2 separate regions of the Homo sapiens genome follow, and region 1 is linked to region 2. The links are contacts of gene promoters, found by promoter capture Hi-C in blood cells and fetal thymus (Javierre and others, 2016). All regions are on one chromosome and are shown on one strand. Each heading gives the region's core, a stretch centred on a gene start or on the middle of the fragment in contact. The rest is flanking DNA. Distances are from core to core; before and after follow the strand shown. Region 1 overlaps LINC02320 (long intergenic non-protein coding RNA 2320). Region 2 holds the start of MOK (MOK protein kinase).

The links. Contacts are between HindIII fragments. The CHiCAGO score rates a contact against its expected background, and 5 or more counts as called.
Region 1: a contact is called between a fragment that was not itself captured here and the fragment with the promoter of MOK in region 2, in 1 of 17 cell types (naive B cells). The highest score is 6.2, in naive B cells.

What each region holds. Positions count from the first base shown.
Region 1 is chr14:101,699,357-101,706,133 of GRCh38, reverse strand. The region is part of intron 1 of LINC02320 (long intergenic non-protein coding RNA 2320); the gene reads left to right. Among named protein-coding and RNA genes, the nearest start is that of LINC00239, 28 kb to the left of the region's middle. RefSeq lists silencers at 1-121, 132-251, 332-391. The HindIII fragment of the contact is 1,053 bases long and covers 4,945-5,997 here.
Region 2 is chr14:102,303,246-102,310,422 of GRCh38, reverse strand. MOK (MOK protein kinase) reads left to right here and starts at 5,259. Exons shown (of 12, transcript NM_014226.3): 1 at 5,259-5,461. The coding sequence starts at 5,455. RefSeq lists enhancers at 5,040-5,089, 4,856-5,378. The HindIII fragment of the contact is 4,511 bases long and covers 1,151-5,661 here.

The DNA of each region.
Region 1 (6,777 bases), core at 4,222-6,721, 600 kb after region 2:
GCGGCGGCTCAGCCTCCAGCAGGCCGGAGGGTGCGCGTCGGGTCCCGGCTCCTCCTGCGCTGGGGACAAGCGGCCCCGCGCCCCCTGTCACCCCACGGAGGCCTTCACCTCCCCATGCCCGGCCGCGGCGGACCGGGGGAACTGGGGGCGGGCCGCAGAGGAGGCTCGGGGCACGGCGTGGGCCCAGGGCCGGGCTCCAGGGAGGGCGAGGAGGACGGCACCCCCCGCCGGCTGCGGTCGCGGCTCGTCCAGGTTCAGGCTTCGGCTGCTCCCGGAAGCCCCTGGCGGGGAGCGGCCGCCTGCGGGGAGATCTCGCGCCCCGGCCGCAGGGCTGCACATGGACGCCGGGACCTGCGCCTCCTCCAGCCCCGGCCCGCAGGGTCCTGGCTTGGGCACCGCCCTCTCTCTCCCCAGGGCCCAGCTCGAGGGGCTCACCCGTGGTGAATATGCGCCGGTCACAGAGCACGGGGCAGCCATAGAGGCCACACTGTCACCTCTGGGGACTGGACAAAAATGTCCAAATCCACGGAAAAATGAGATGCCCAAATAATCTCTCATAATTCTTCACGTTAACATTTTGCCTTCTTTTGTCACGTTCGTTCTCTGTCACTCTTTTTATATATGTACCTTCCCCCCACAACCCACTGGAAAGTAATATTCAGACATTGTGACACTTCACTTCTATATAAATTTCCCCTTAAGCATTTACAGCATTAAATATAGAACATTAAAGATAGAACATTAAAGCTCTGTATTAGAAACAAAGAAAGGTCTCTCATCAAATATCTAAGCTTCTACATTAAGAAACTAGGAAAAGAAGAGCAACAGAAGTCCAAAGCAAACAGAAAGCAGGACATAATACATATAAGGCCGGATGCAGTGGCTCACGCCTGTGATCCCAGCACTTTGGGAGGCTCGAGGCGGGCGGATCACCTGAGGTCAGGAGTTCGAGACCAGCCTGGCCAACATGGCAAAACCCGTCTCTACTAAGAATAAAAAAATTAGCCAGGTGTGGTGGTGGGCGCCTGTAATCCCAGCTACTCGAGTGGCTGAGGCAGGAGAATCACTTCAACCCTGGAGGCAGAGGTTGTAGTGAGCCGAGATTGTGCCACTGCACTCCAGCCTGGGCAACAGAGTGAGACTCTGTCTTAAACAAAAACAAAAAAAAACCCCAAGTTAGTTGGGCACGATGGCACACTCCTATAACCCCAGCTACTCAGGTGGCTGAGGCAGGAGAATCACTGGAACCCAGGAGGCGGCAGTTGCAGTGAGCTGAGATCGTGCCATCGCACTCCAGCCTGGGCAACAGAGCAAGACCCTGTCTCAAAAACAAAACAAAACAAAACAAAACAAAAACCACCAAAAAACAAACAGAAAAACCATATGAGAGCAGAAACTAACTCAATTGAAAACAAAAGAGAAAACTTTTCTAAAAACATCTTTACTATTTACATCTACAATCTGTCTAGAATAGATTGTGATACAGGATAAGCAAGCCCCCAAATTGGGGCTTAGCCCTGGGGGGTTCCTGGCTTCCTCCAGGTAAGAATTCAAGGGTGAGCTGGTGGTGTTAGCCAGCAACGTTTATTGAAGCAGCAATGCACAGCAGTGGCAGAGGGACTGCCCCTTGCAGAGCAGGGCCACCCCTTAGACAGTGAGCCCAGAGCAGCAGCTCAGAGGCAGGTCTGCACTCATATTTATACCCATGCTTAATTATATGCAAATTAAGGGGTAGTTTATACAGAGATTTCTAGGATGAGAGCGGTAACTTCTGGGTTATCAGGTTGTTGCTACGGAAAGGGGTGGTAAATCCCTGGTGTTGCCATGGCAATGGTACACTGGCGTGGCACACTGGTGGGTGTGTCTTATGTGGAGGTGCTTTGGCCCTAGACCTGTTTTAGCTAGTCCTCAATTTGGTCTGGTGTCTGAGCCTCACCTCCAGAGTCTAATACCACCTCCTACCTCAATTGTTAGACATGATTTGAGTTAGGGGGTGAAGATACCTTTTTTTTTTTTCCCAAATATATATCCAATTAACACCAGCATTTACTGACAAGACCCTCACATCTCCAGTGTTCTCCTGTGTCCTTGTCATAAATCAGGGGATTGTATATTTTCGAATCAGTTTCTAAACTCTTTTTCTGTTGGTTTATATTTCTACCTTTGTACCAATATCACAGTGTCTTAATTACCTTCAGTTTTCTCCTTCTCATCCTCATCGTCTGCCTCCTCCTTCTTCAGGATCACCTTGGTTATTCTCAGCCTTTGCATTTTCATACACATTTTAGAGTTAGGTTATCATTTTCCACCAAAAGCGACTTCTCCTGGGAATTGGATGTGATTATATGAAATATTTAAATGATTTTGGGGAGAATTTCACATCTAAAAATAATGAGCCTTTCAATGATTAACATAGTATATATTCTTTATTTATTTAGGGTTTAATTTCCCTTAATAGTGTTTTGTAGTTTTCAGCATAGAAGTCTTATACATCTTTCATTATATTCATTCACCTAAGAGTGTTTTATGTTTTTCAAAAGCTTTTCTAAGTTTCTAACATTTGTTGCTGGCATGTAGAAATACAAGTGATTTTTGTATATTGACCTTGTATACGGCAATGCTGCTAAATGCACTTATTACTGAAAATCATTTATTGGTAGGTTCATTTGGATTTTCTAATAACACAATCATGTTATTTGCAAATAATAACAGTTTTATAGTTTTCTTTTCTACGTGGATGCCTTTCATCTCCATTCTTTGTCCTTCTACACTGACTAAGACCTTCAATACAATATTGAATAGAGGTGGTGATAATGGACATCTTTGTCTTGTTCTTGGTTTCAGGGAGAAAACTTTCAACATTTTACCAATTCCTATGATGGTTTCTGTAGACTTCTTTTTCAGATCATGGAAGTGTTATTTTATTCTTAGTTTTCTAAGAGTTTTTAATCATTAATTTTGTTAAATGCCTTCTCTGCATCTATTGAGATAATCATGGGAGTTTTCTCATTTTTTTCTTTCTGTGAATATGGTGTATTAGTTAGGGTTTTTCAGAGAGAAACAGAACTAATAGGATAGGTAGATAGAGAGATATAGATAGATAGATATAGGTATAGGTGGATAGATATAGATAGGTAGGTAGATAGATAGATAGATAGATAGATAGATAATTAGTCTATTTTCATTCTGCTGATGAAGACATACCTGAGACTGGGCAATTTACAAAAGAAAGAGGTTTATTGGACTTACTGTTCCACATGGCTGGGGAGGCCTCACAATCCTGGAGGAAGGCAAGGAGGAGCAAGTCACATTTTATGTGGATGGCAGCAAACAAAGAGAGAGAGCTTGTGCAGGACAACTCCTGTTTTCAAAACCATCAGATCTCATGAGACTCATTCACTATCATGAAACAGCATGGGAAAGACCTGCCCCATAATTCAATCATCTCCCACTGCGTACCTCCCACAACACGTGGGAATTATGGGAGCTACAATATGAGATTTTGGTGGGGACACAGAGCCAAACCATATCATTCTGCCCCTAGATACAATGAAGGTATAGGCACTGGGTAAATACAACCATTCCAAATGGGAGAAATTGGCCAAAACAGAGAGGCTACAGGCCCCATGCAAGTCCAAAATCCAGCATGGCAGTCAAATCTTAAAGCTCCAAAATGATCTCCTTTGAGTCCACGTCTTACATCCAGGTCATGTGGATGCAAGAGGTAGGTTCCCATAGTCTTCAGCAGCTCCGCCCCTTTGCAGGGTGCAGCCTCCCTCCTGGCTGCTTTCATGGGCTGGTGTTGAGTGTCTGCAGCTTTTCCAGGCACATGGTGCAAGCTGTCAGTAGATCTACCATTCTGGGATCTGGAGGATGGTGGCCCTCTTCTCACAGCTCCACTAGGCAGTGCCCTGGTAGGGCTACAAGATGAGATTTGGGCAGGGACACAGAGCCAAACCATATTAGATAGATAGATAGATAGATAGATAGTTAGATAGATATAGATTTGCTATAAGGAATTGGCTCATGTGATAATGGAGGCTGAGAAGTCCCAAGATTTGCAGTGGGCAAGGTGGAGAACCAGGAGAGCTGCTGATCCAAAGGCCAGCAGCCTCAAGACCTAAGAAGAGTTATGTTTCTCTCTGAGCCCAAAAGCCTGCAAGACCAATGTCTCAGGTCAACAAGTCTGGTAGGAGGCATTCCCTCTTACTCAATCTTTTTATTCTACTTAAGTCTTCAGTTGATTGGGTGAGGTCCACCCACATTGGGGAGGGCAATCTGTTGTGCTCAGTCTACTGATTGAAATGTTAATCTCATCCAGAAACACCCTCACAGACATACTTAGAATAATGTTTGGCTAAATATCTGAGCCACCTGTGGCTCAGTCAAGTTGATACATAAAATTAACCATCACAAGTAGTGAATTACTCTGATTTTTTTTTTTAGATTTACAGAGAAGTTGCAAAGATGACACAAAGAGTTTCTCATATGCCCTTCATTCAGTTTCCCCTATTGCTTTTTATATCTTATTCATTTATCTTTATTTTTAATTTTTGTGGGTACATAGCAGTGTATGTATCTATGCGGTACATGAGATATTTTGATACAGGCATGCAATTTGTAATAATCACATCAGGGGAAATGGGGTGTTCATCACTTCAAGCATTTATCATTTTTTTGGTGTTACAAACAATCCAATTATACTCTTTTAGTTATTTTAAAAATATTTAATACATTATTGTTGACTTTAGTCACCCTGTTGTGCTATCAAATACTATATCTTATTCATTCTATCTGAATATATCTTTGTACTCCTTAACTGTCCCTACCCTCCACCCCTTTCTACCCTTCCCAGCCTCCAGTAACCATCATTCTACTCTCATCTCCATGAATTCCATGGTTTTAATTTTTAGCTCCCACAAATGAGTGAGAACATGTAAAGCTTGTCTTTCTGTGCCTGGCTTATTTTACTTAACATAATGTCCTCCATTTCCATCCATGTGGTTGCAAATGACAGAATCTCATTCTTTTCTATGGCTGAATAGTACTCCATTGTGCATATGTACCACATTTTATTTATTCTTTTGTTGATGGACACCTCGGTTCCAAATCTTGGATATTGTGAATAGTGCTGCAATGCATGAGAGTGCAGACATCTCTTTGATTTACTGATTTACTTTCTTTTAGGTATATCCCTATCAGTGGGATTGCTGGATCCTATGGTAGTTCTATTCTTAGTTTTCTTTTTGTTTTTTGATTATTTTTTTCTTTTTTGGGATGGAATCTCGTTCTGTTGCCCAGGGTGGAGTGCAGTGGTATGATCTTGGCTCACTGCAACCTCCACCTCCCAGGTTCAAGAGATTCTCCTGCCTCAGCCTCCTGAGTAGCTGGGATCACAGGCACGCACCGCCATGCCCGGCTATTTTTTGCATTTTTAGTAGAGACAGGGTTTCGTTGTGTTGGCCACGCTGGTCTCGAACTCCTGACCTCAGGTGATCCACCCGCCTTGGCCTCCCAAAGTGCTGGGATTGCAGGCAGGAGCCACTGCGCCCTGTCTATTTTTAGTTTTCTGAGGAAGCTCCATGTTGTTTTCCAAGTGGCTGCACTAATTTACATTCCCACCAACAGTGTACGAGGGTTCCCTTTCTCAACACTCCAGCATTCATTATTTCCTGCCTTTTAGATAAAAGCTATTTTAACTAGTATGAGATGATGTCTCATTGGAGTTTTGATTTGTGTTTCCCTGATGATCAGTGATGTTGAGCACCTGTTCACATAGCTGTTTGCCATTTGGATGTATTCTTTTGAGAAATGTCTATTCAATCTTTTGCCCATTTTAAATCAAATTGTTAGATTTTTTTTCCTATTGAATTGTTTGAGCTCCTTATATATTCTGGTTATTAATCCCTTGTCAGATGGATAGTTTGCAAATATTTTCTCTCATTCTGTGGATTGTCTCTTCACTTTGTTGCTAGTTTCCTTTGCTATGCAGAAGCTTTTTAATGATGTGATTTTTTAAAATGTGATTCCATTTGTCCATTTTTTGCTTCGGTTGCCTGTGCCTGTGAAGTATTACTCAAGAAATCTTTGTTCGTACCAATGTCCTGGAGAGTTTCTCCTATGTTTTCTTTTAGTAGTTTCATAGTTTCAGGTTTTAGATTTAAGTCTTTAATCCATTTTGATTTGATTTTTGTGTATGGTGAGAGAGCGATCTGGTTTCATTCTTCTGCATATGAACATCCAGTTTTCCCAGCACAATTTACTGACGAGACAATCCCTTTCTCAATACATGTTCTTGAAAGCTTTGTTGAAAATGAGTTCACTGTGGCTGTATGGATTTATTTCTGGGTTCTCTATTCTGTTCCATTGGTCTATGTGTCTGTTTTTATGTCAGTACCATCCTGTTTTTGTTACTTCATTGCTATAGCTCTGTAGTATAATTTAAAATCAGGTAATGGGATTCCTCCAGTTTTTTTTTTTTTTTTTTTTTCCTCATGATGGTTCTGACTGTTCTGGGCCTTTTGTGGTCCCATATAAATTTTAGGATTTTTTTTCTATTTCTGTGAGGAATTTCATTAGTACTTTAATAGAGATTGCACTGAATCTGTAGATTGCTTTGGGTAGCATGGACATTTTAATAATATTGATTCTTCTAATCCATGAACATGGAATATCTTTCCATTTTTTGGTGTCCTCTTCAATATCTTGCATAAAAGTTTTTATTGTAAAGATTTTTCACTTCCTTGGTTAAGTTTATTCCTAGGTATTTTGTTTAAT
Region 2 (7,177 bases), core at 4,010-6,509:
TTTTTCCATGTTGGTCAGGCTGGTGTTGCATTCCCGACCTCGGGTGATCCGCCCTCCTTGGCCTCCCAAAGTGCTGGGATTACAGGTGTGACCCACCGCGCCCAGCCTTCTTTTGTTTTCTTTCCTTTTTTTTCTTCTTTTCTTTTCTTTTTTTTTTTTAAGGAAGGGTCTGGCTCTGTCGCCCAGGCTGAAGTGCAGTGTCACCATCTCGGTTTCCTGCAGCCTCTGCCTCCCAGGCTTAAATGGTCCTCCCACCTCAGCCTCCTGAGCAGCTGGGACTACAGGCATGCACCACCATGCCCAGTTAAGTTTTGCATTTTTTTTTTTTTTTTTGAGACGGTGTCTCCCTCTGTTGCCCAGGCTGGAGTGCAGTGGTGCCATCTTGGCTCACTGCAACCTCCGCCTCCCGGGTTCAAGCAATTCTCTGCCTCAGAGTAGCCAGGATTACAGGTGCCCACCACCACGCCTGGCTAATTTTTTTATAGTTTTAGTAGAGACAGGGTTTCACCATCTTGGCCAGGCTGGTCTTGAACTCCTGACCTTGTGATCTGCCGGCCTCAGCCTCCCAAAGTGCTGGGATTACAGGCATGAGCCACCGCGCCTGGCCAATTTTTGTATTTTTTGTATTATTATTGTTATTTTTTGAGACAACGGCTCTCTCCTGTTGCCCAGGCTGGAGGTCAGTGGTGCAAACATGGCTTATTGCAGCCTCGATTTCCCAGGCTCAGGTGATTCTCCCACTTTAGGCTTCTGAGTAGCTGGGACTGCAGGCACCTGCCACCAAGCCCAGCTAATTTTTTGTATTTTTAGTAGATAAGGGGTTTCACCATGTTGCCTCGGCTGGTCTCGAACCCCTGAGCTCAAGCCATCCGCTTGCCTCGGCCTCCTAAAGTGCTGGGATTACAGGTGTGAGCCACTATTCCTGGCCAGGAAACCTTTTCTTACACTTAAAAAATTCTAAATGTATTTCTTTGAGTTCCTTTTTCTCAGAAACCTACACAGACTTCTTCGTAGACAGAATTTTACCTATTTTTGCATCCACACTAGACCAGGATCTAATTTCTAGAGTGCTTGGTTAACTACCATCCTTCATGTTAATTTCAGTGGCTAATGTTTTTGCTCCTCCTTATTTAATATCCTTGTTCAAGCTTAGTTTTCCCTGAGATGTGTTTATTATTTTACAAAATCAATCTAATTTCTAATATCTTTAGGTAGATTTGCGTTTTACCCACTTTAACAGTGTTAACACGTTTGAAATGTCTGTCATCCCTAGCTTTTCTGACTTGTTTCCTGGTTTGAACCTTAATTCAGATGCTCAGCAGAAGGAAATAGGTTGTCTGCTAAACATAGCCACATGGCTGAATCCCTTGACATTGGCAAATAGGGAAAAACTAATGCTAGAATATGGGATGAACAGTCTGAGGGAGTTTTAGAACGATTCAAAAAGCTCAAGTGGTTATAATTAGGTAGTGTTCATACAGTTTTAAAAGCGGAGCTCTGGAACTGGGCGCGGTGGCTAACGCCTGTAATCCCAGCACTTTGGGAGGCTGAGGCAGGTGAATCACCTGAGGTCAGGAGTTCGAGACCAGCCTGACCAATATGGTGAAACCCCATCTCTACTAAAAATACAAAAATTAGCCAGGTGTGGTGGCACGTGCCTGTAGTCCCAGCTACTTGGGAGGCTGAGACAGGAGAATTGCTTGAACCTGGGAGGCAGAGGTTGTAGTGAGCCGAGATCAAGCCACAGTACTCCAGCCTGCGTGACAGAGCAAGACTCTGTCTCAAAAAAAAAAATTTAAAAATAATAACTTAATAAAAAAAAAAAGCAGAGCTCTGAGATGCGTGGTGGTTCCATTTCACAAGCGTTTCCTGAGCATGTAATATGTGCTGAGCAGGCTCCTGGCTCTGGGTGAGCTGGGCAGGTGAGAGGCTTGGGGTGAAGACCCTCTCTGGAGGAGTTCACAGCCTGGTACTTCTTACTTATCTGTCCATTCAGGGCTGGAGTGGCCCAGCTAGGCAGGTGCTGAGGCCACCCAGCTGAAGCCTGAACAGGTTGACCCCTCCGCTGATGTTTGAGCGTGTTTACCACAGGAAGAGAAGCTCCTCAGCAATTGTTCCTTCTTTTCAAAGCAGCATTTCCTATTTCATTTAGAATTAAAGAAAGAATAAGGAATTCTCTAGGCCAGTGGTTTTCAAAATATGGCCACTGGTGCAGCATCACCTGGAATTTTGTGAGAGCTGCAAACTATCCCCCACTCCAGACTTACAGATTTAGAAATAATGGGGCGGAAATCCCTGATCGAATGGAACATTCTGGAGTTCGTCCCCTCACCCAACCTTAAGATGAACTTGGAACAAGGGTGCTCAGCCAGAGGGGCAGGTGAGGCCGCAAGTCCAGCTGCCCCTGTTCACCTAGGTAAGCACATAGACTGTGTCTACCCCCTGGGGGCACCTTGCTCTAAATCATCTGCCCAATCAGGACCAACATGGTCTCTACAACGTCACTTCTGAGAACCACTTGTCCACAATGAAGGGAAGAAGAAAATCCATCAGCACCTGGTGAATTGGGAAACAATGGGGCTCTCACTTGCTAAATGCATTCACCTGTTCACTTATTTAATACACTCTGCCCTGCAGGGTAGAGAAAAGACACATGAGGGGCCCAAGGAACTTAGAACCCACCTGGTTAGAAGAAACTAACAAGCAAGAGACAGGGTTAGAAATATAAATGTGACATAAGGGCAAGCCCCCAAATAAGAAAGAACACAAGAAGAGAAGAAGGGATAGATCAAATCCTAGTGGTCTGGAGAGATTAGATGTGGCTTCTCAAAGCCAACAAAGATAGCACCACCAACAATAATACACCAGCAATAATCGCTATTTATTTTTTCAACTTTTTTATTGAGAGAAAATTTACATAAAATTCACCATTGTAACCATTTATTTATTTATTATTTTTTGAGATGGAGTCTTGCTCTGTCGCCCAGACTGGAGTGTAGTGGCAGGATCTCGACTCACTGTAGCCTCCACCTCCTGGGTTCAAGTGATTCTCCCGCCTCAGCCTCCTGAGTAGCTGGGATTACAGGAGCGCATCACCACACCTGGCTAATTTTTGTATTTTTAGTAGTGACAGGGTTTCACCATGTTGGTTGGCCAGCTGGTCTCGAATTCCTGACCTCAGTTGGTCCATCCTCCTCGGCCTCCCAAAGTGCTGGGATTATAGGTGTGAGCCACCACGCCTGGCTTGTTTTGTATTTTATTTATGTATTTGCTTTTTTAGACGGAGTCTCACTCTGTCGCCCAGGCTGGAGTGCAGTGGCGCAATCTCGGCTCACTGCAACCTCCGCCTCCCGGGTTCAAGCAATTCTCTGCCTCAGCCTCCCGAGTAGCTGGGATTACAGGTGCCTGCCACCACACCCGGCTCATTTTTCTATTTTCAGTAGAGATGGGGTTTCACCATCTTGGCCAGGCTAGTCTTGAACTCCTGACCTGGGGATCCACCCGCCTTGGCCTCCCAAAGTGCTGGGATTACAGGCATCAGCCACTGTGCCCAGCCGTTTTGTATTTTTTTAGTAGAGACGGGGTTTCCCCCATGTTGGCCAGGCTGGTCTCGAACTCCTGGACTCAAGTGATCTGCCTGCCTCGGCCGCCCAACGTGCTGGGATTGCAGGTGTGAGCCACCGCGACCGGCCGCTTTCTCTTTCTTTCGAGACAAGGTCTTGCTTTGTCACCCAGGCTAGAGTGCAGTGGTGCTATCATAGCTCACTGAGCCTAGAACTCCTGGTCTCAAGATACCTCCGCCTTATTCTCCTGAATAGCTGGGTTTACAGGCATGTGCCACCGTGCCCGGCTTTTTTTTTTTTTTTTTTTTTTTTTTGAGTCTCTTGCTCTGTCGCCCAGGCTGCAGTGCAGGTGGTGCAATCTCGGCTCACTGCAAGCTCCGCCTCCAGGGTTCACGCCATTCTCCTGCCTCAGCCCCCGGAGTAGCTGGAACTATAGCGCCCGCCACTACGCCCGGCTAATTTTTTTTGTATTTTTAGTAGAGATGGGGTTTCACCGTGTTAGCCAGGATGGTCTCGATTTCCTGACCTCGTGATCTGCCCGCCTTGGCCTCCCAAAGTGCTGGGATTACAGGCGTGAGCCACCACGCCCGGAGTTTTTTTTTTTTTTTTTTTAAGAGGGAAGTGGGGTTTCTCTATGTTGCCCAGGCTGGTCTTGAATTTCTGGCCTCAAGCGATCCTCTTGCCTCGGCCTTCCAAAGTGCTGGGATTACAGGTGTGAGCCACCACACCTGGCCAATTCAGTCTTAAACCAATTTTCTGAGGCTTCGTTTTGGCAAGGCTACTTATCTGTTTTAAAAATAAACGATGTATTTTAGTAAAAGAAAAAAAATGGAGGAAAAAACAGGGTTTTGATCTCATGGAATAATTATGAGGCTAATCTAATGAGCTTCATAAAATACTATACCCATACATAGTATGCTTGTTATTTTATTGTTTTGTCAGGGTCCAGAGAACTAGGCCACTGTGTTGCTTAGGCACCGTGTCTGCACATAGTTCATTCCGGTGTACATTCATTCATCTTTACACTAGAATGTTAGTTTCAAGAACTCAGTCACCTCGTCTACACTGTCCTTTAATCCCCAATACCTGCGACAGTTCCTGGGGCAAAAACAAATGCTTGTTGAATTAAAAAGAAAAACTGGGCCGGGCGTGGTGGCTCACGCCTGTAATCCCAGCACTTCGGGAGGCCGAGGCAGGCGGATCACCTGAGGTCAGGAGTTCGAGACCAGCCTAACATGGTGAAACCCCGTCTCTACTAAAAATACAAAAACATTAGCCGGGTGTAGTGGTGGGTGCCTGTAATCCCAGCTACTTGGGAGGCTGAGGCAGGAGAATCGCTTGAAGCCGGGAGGCGGAGGTTGCAGTGAGCCGAGATCACGCCATTGCACCCCAACCTGGGTAACAGAGCGACACTCTGTCTCAAAAAAAAAAAAAAATTCCTGTAGAAGCTCCCAAGCCCAATTAAAGCTCAAGGCTATCGTCCACGTAGTGGGTTCCAAATCGCTAAGTTCCCAGGCCAGCAGGGAGAGCGAGCCGAGCGAAGGTCGCCTGTGTCAAAGGCGGGGATTTGCACAGTATTTACATGGAAGCGGAGGAAAGGCTGCTTAGCAACCGGGCTGAGGGGACGGGCTGCACTGCGCACGCGTACATGGGCGGGGCATCTTGCGCATGCGCAGGCGACAGCTCATGGCGTTCAGGGCCTGACGGTTGCTAGGGTGACAGGGACACAACATGGCGGCGGGATCTCTAACGCTCTCCTTCGAGGGACCACCACGGAGATCCTAGTGCGGGACCCCGCCTCAGGGAAGTGGAAAGCAGGGGGACAACCTTCCTGCTTCTTTCTTTTCCGTCCAGTGTCGGCAAGGGGTTGTCACCGGCTTCCGCATCCAAGATGAAGAGTGAGTGGGGCCGGGGAAAGGGGCAGGGACTGGAGAGCGAGTGGCGGGGGAGGGAGGGACTGGGGGAGCTTGAGGAGCTTGAGGGGCCTGTGGGGCCGGGCGTCGTCGCCTTCTGCCGTGGCTCGACAGGCCCGGGAGGCTCCGCATGTGGGCCCCGAATCCCCCTCGGCTGTGAGAAGCCGGTGCCCCTGGGGGAAGCTTGAGGGGTTGGGGCTAGGTTGGGAACTTTGGGGTCTCGGAGAGCCGACTCGAGTTCCCGCTCAGGCATATTTTGGTGCAGGTGCGTGGTTCTTACATTGGAGTTTAGGGAGTTGACTGTGATTCATTTTATTTTATTTTAAATGCTGGCTTGAACCTGACACTCTTTTCCTGAACATTCGGCAGAAAACGGGGGAGCGCTTACAGCGTGGCTCCCTGCCTTTTCATGATACTGGTTTAGTGACCAATTGAGAGGAAAGCTGGGCTGTGTGCTTTATTTTATTTTTTGGGTCAAGCAGTAGTGTTTTATAGGAACCACTTTTTAATAGTAGTTTTGAAGCAACCTTTTAGTTAAAAGCTGTTACTTCAAAGTTGGGAAATGAGGTAGTCATTCTAGAAAATGTAACGGGTAAAAAATTTTCTTTAGTGGGATTTGTGGATTATTGACAATCCAAGTGCAACCAGCTAGAATGATGTTTTTAAAATTATTATTACTGTACAGATATAATTGTTTATGGTTGTGAACCAGAGGTGCAGTAAAAATTCAGACCTTTGCTGTGAAAATATTATGTTAGGAGTAGTTATAATGTTAAATTTGCATTGTATCCTAATTGTCAATGGTGTACATTGCATAACATTTAAAATAATTAATCTCATTCACCCTTTACAAGGCATTTTTATTTTTATTTTATTTTGTTGGATATTGTTTAATGTTTACCTTTTTCATTAATGCACTACAAAGCTGTAGTTAGAATCCAAGGTCTACAAAAGACTTTACACTTTTACTTACAGTGCAGACTATGATACTGCACATATTTTGTACTATATTCATTTTTTTCTTCCCATCTGTTTGTTTTGAAAATTTTCAGATGTACAGGAAAGTTGCAAGAGCAGTACATTGAATATTTATAAACCCGTCCTTCACTTAGCTGCACCATTTTGCCTTATTTTTGTGTGCTCGCTTTCGCTCTGGTGTTTTCTCTCTCCCATTTATGTATTTATTTTCACTGGACCTTTCAAGAGTTAGTTGTAGACTACTAATAATTCACCACTTCTTTCAGCAGTTATCTGCCAAGAACAAGGACATTCTCCTACATCATCACAGTACAAATAACACATTTAGAAAATTTAACAATGATACAATACTCTGATACACAGTCCATATTTCAGTTTTTCCATTTATCCCAATAACATGTGTTATAGTTGTTTATATTTTTTCTATCCAATCAAGAATCACCAATTGTATTCTGTTGTCATATCTCTTTGGTCTCTTTTAATATGGTGTCCCTGCCTTTTGTGTCTTTCATGACAATGATATTTTCATTTTTATTTGGCTGTCCTCTGTAGGCCAAATGACATTTTTAAAGAATCCAGCCCAGTGTTTTGCAGAATATCGCTCAATTTGGATTTGTCTGATTTTCGCCTCATGATTAGCTTCAGCTTAAATGTTTTTACCAGGAATATGTGAGAGGCAACGTTGTGTCTCTGTCAGTGTGGCCCTTCCAGAGTGCCTGATGT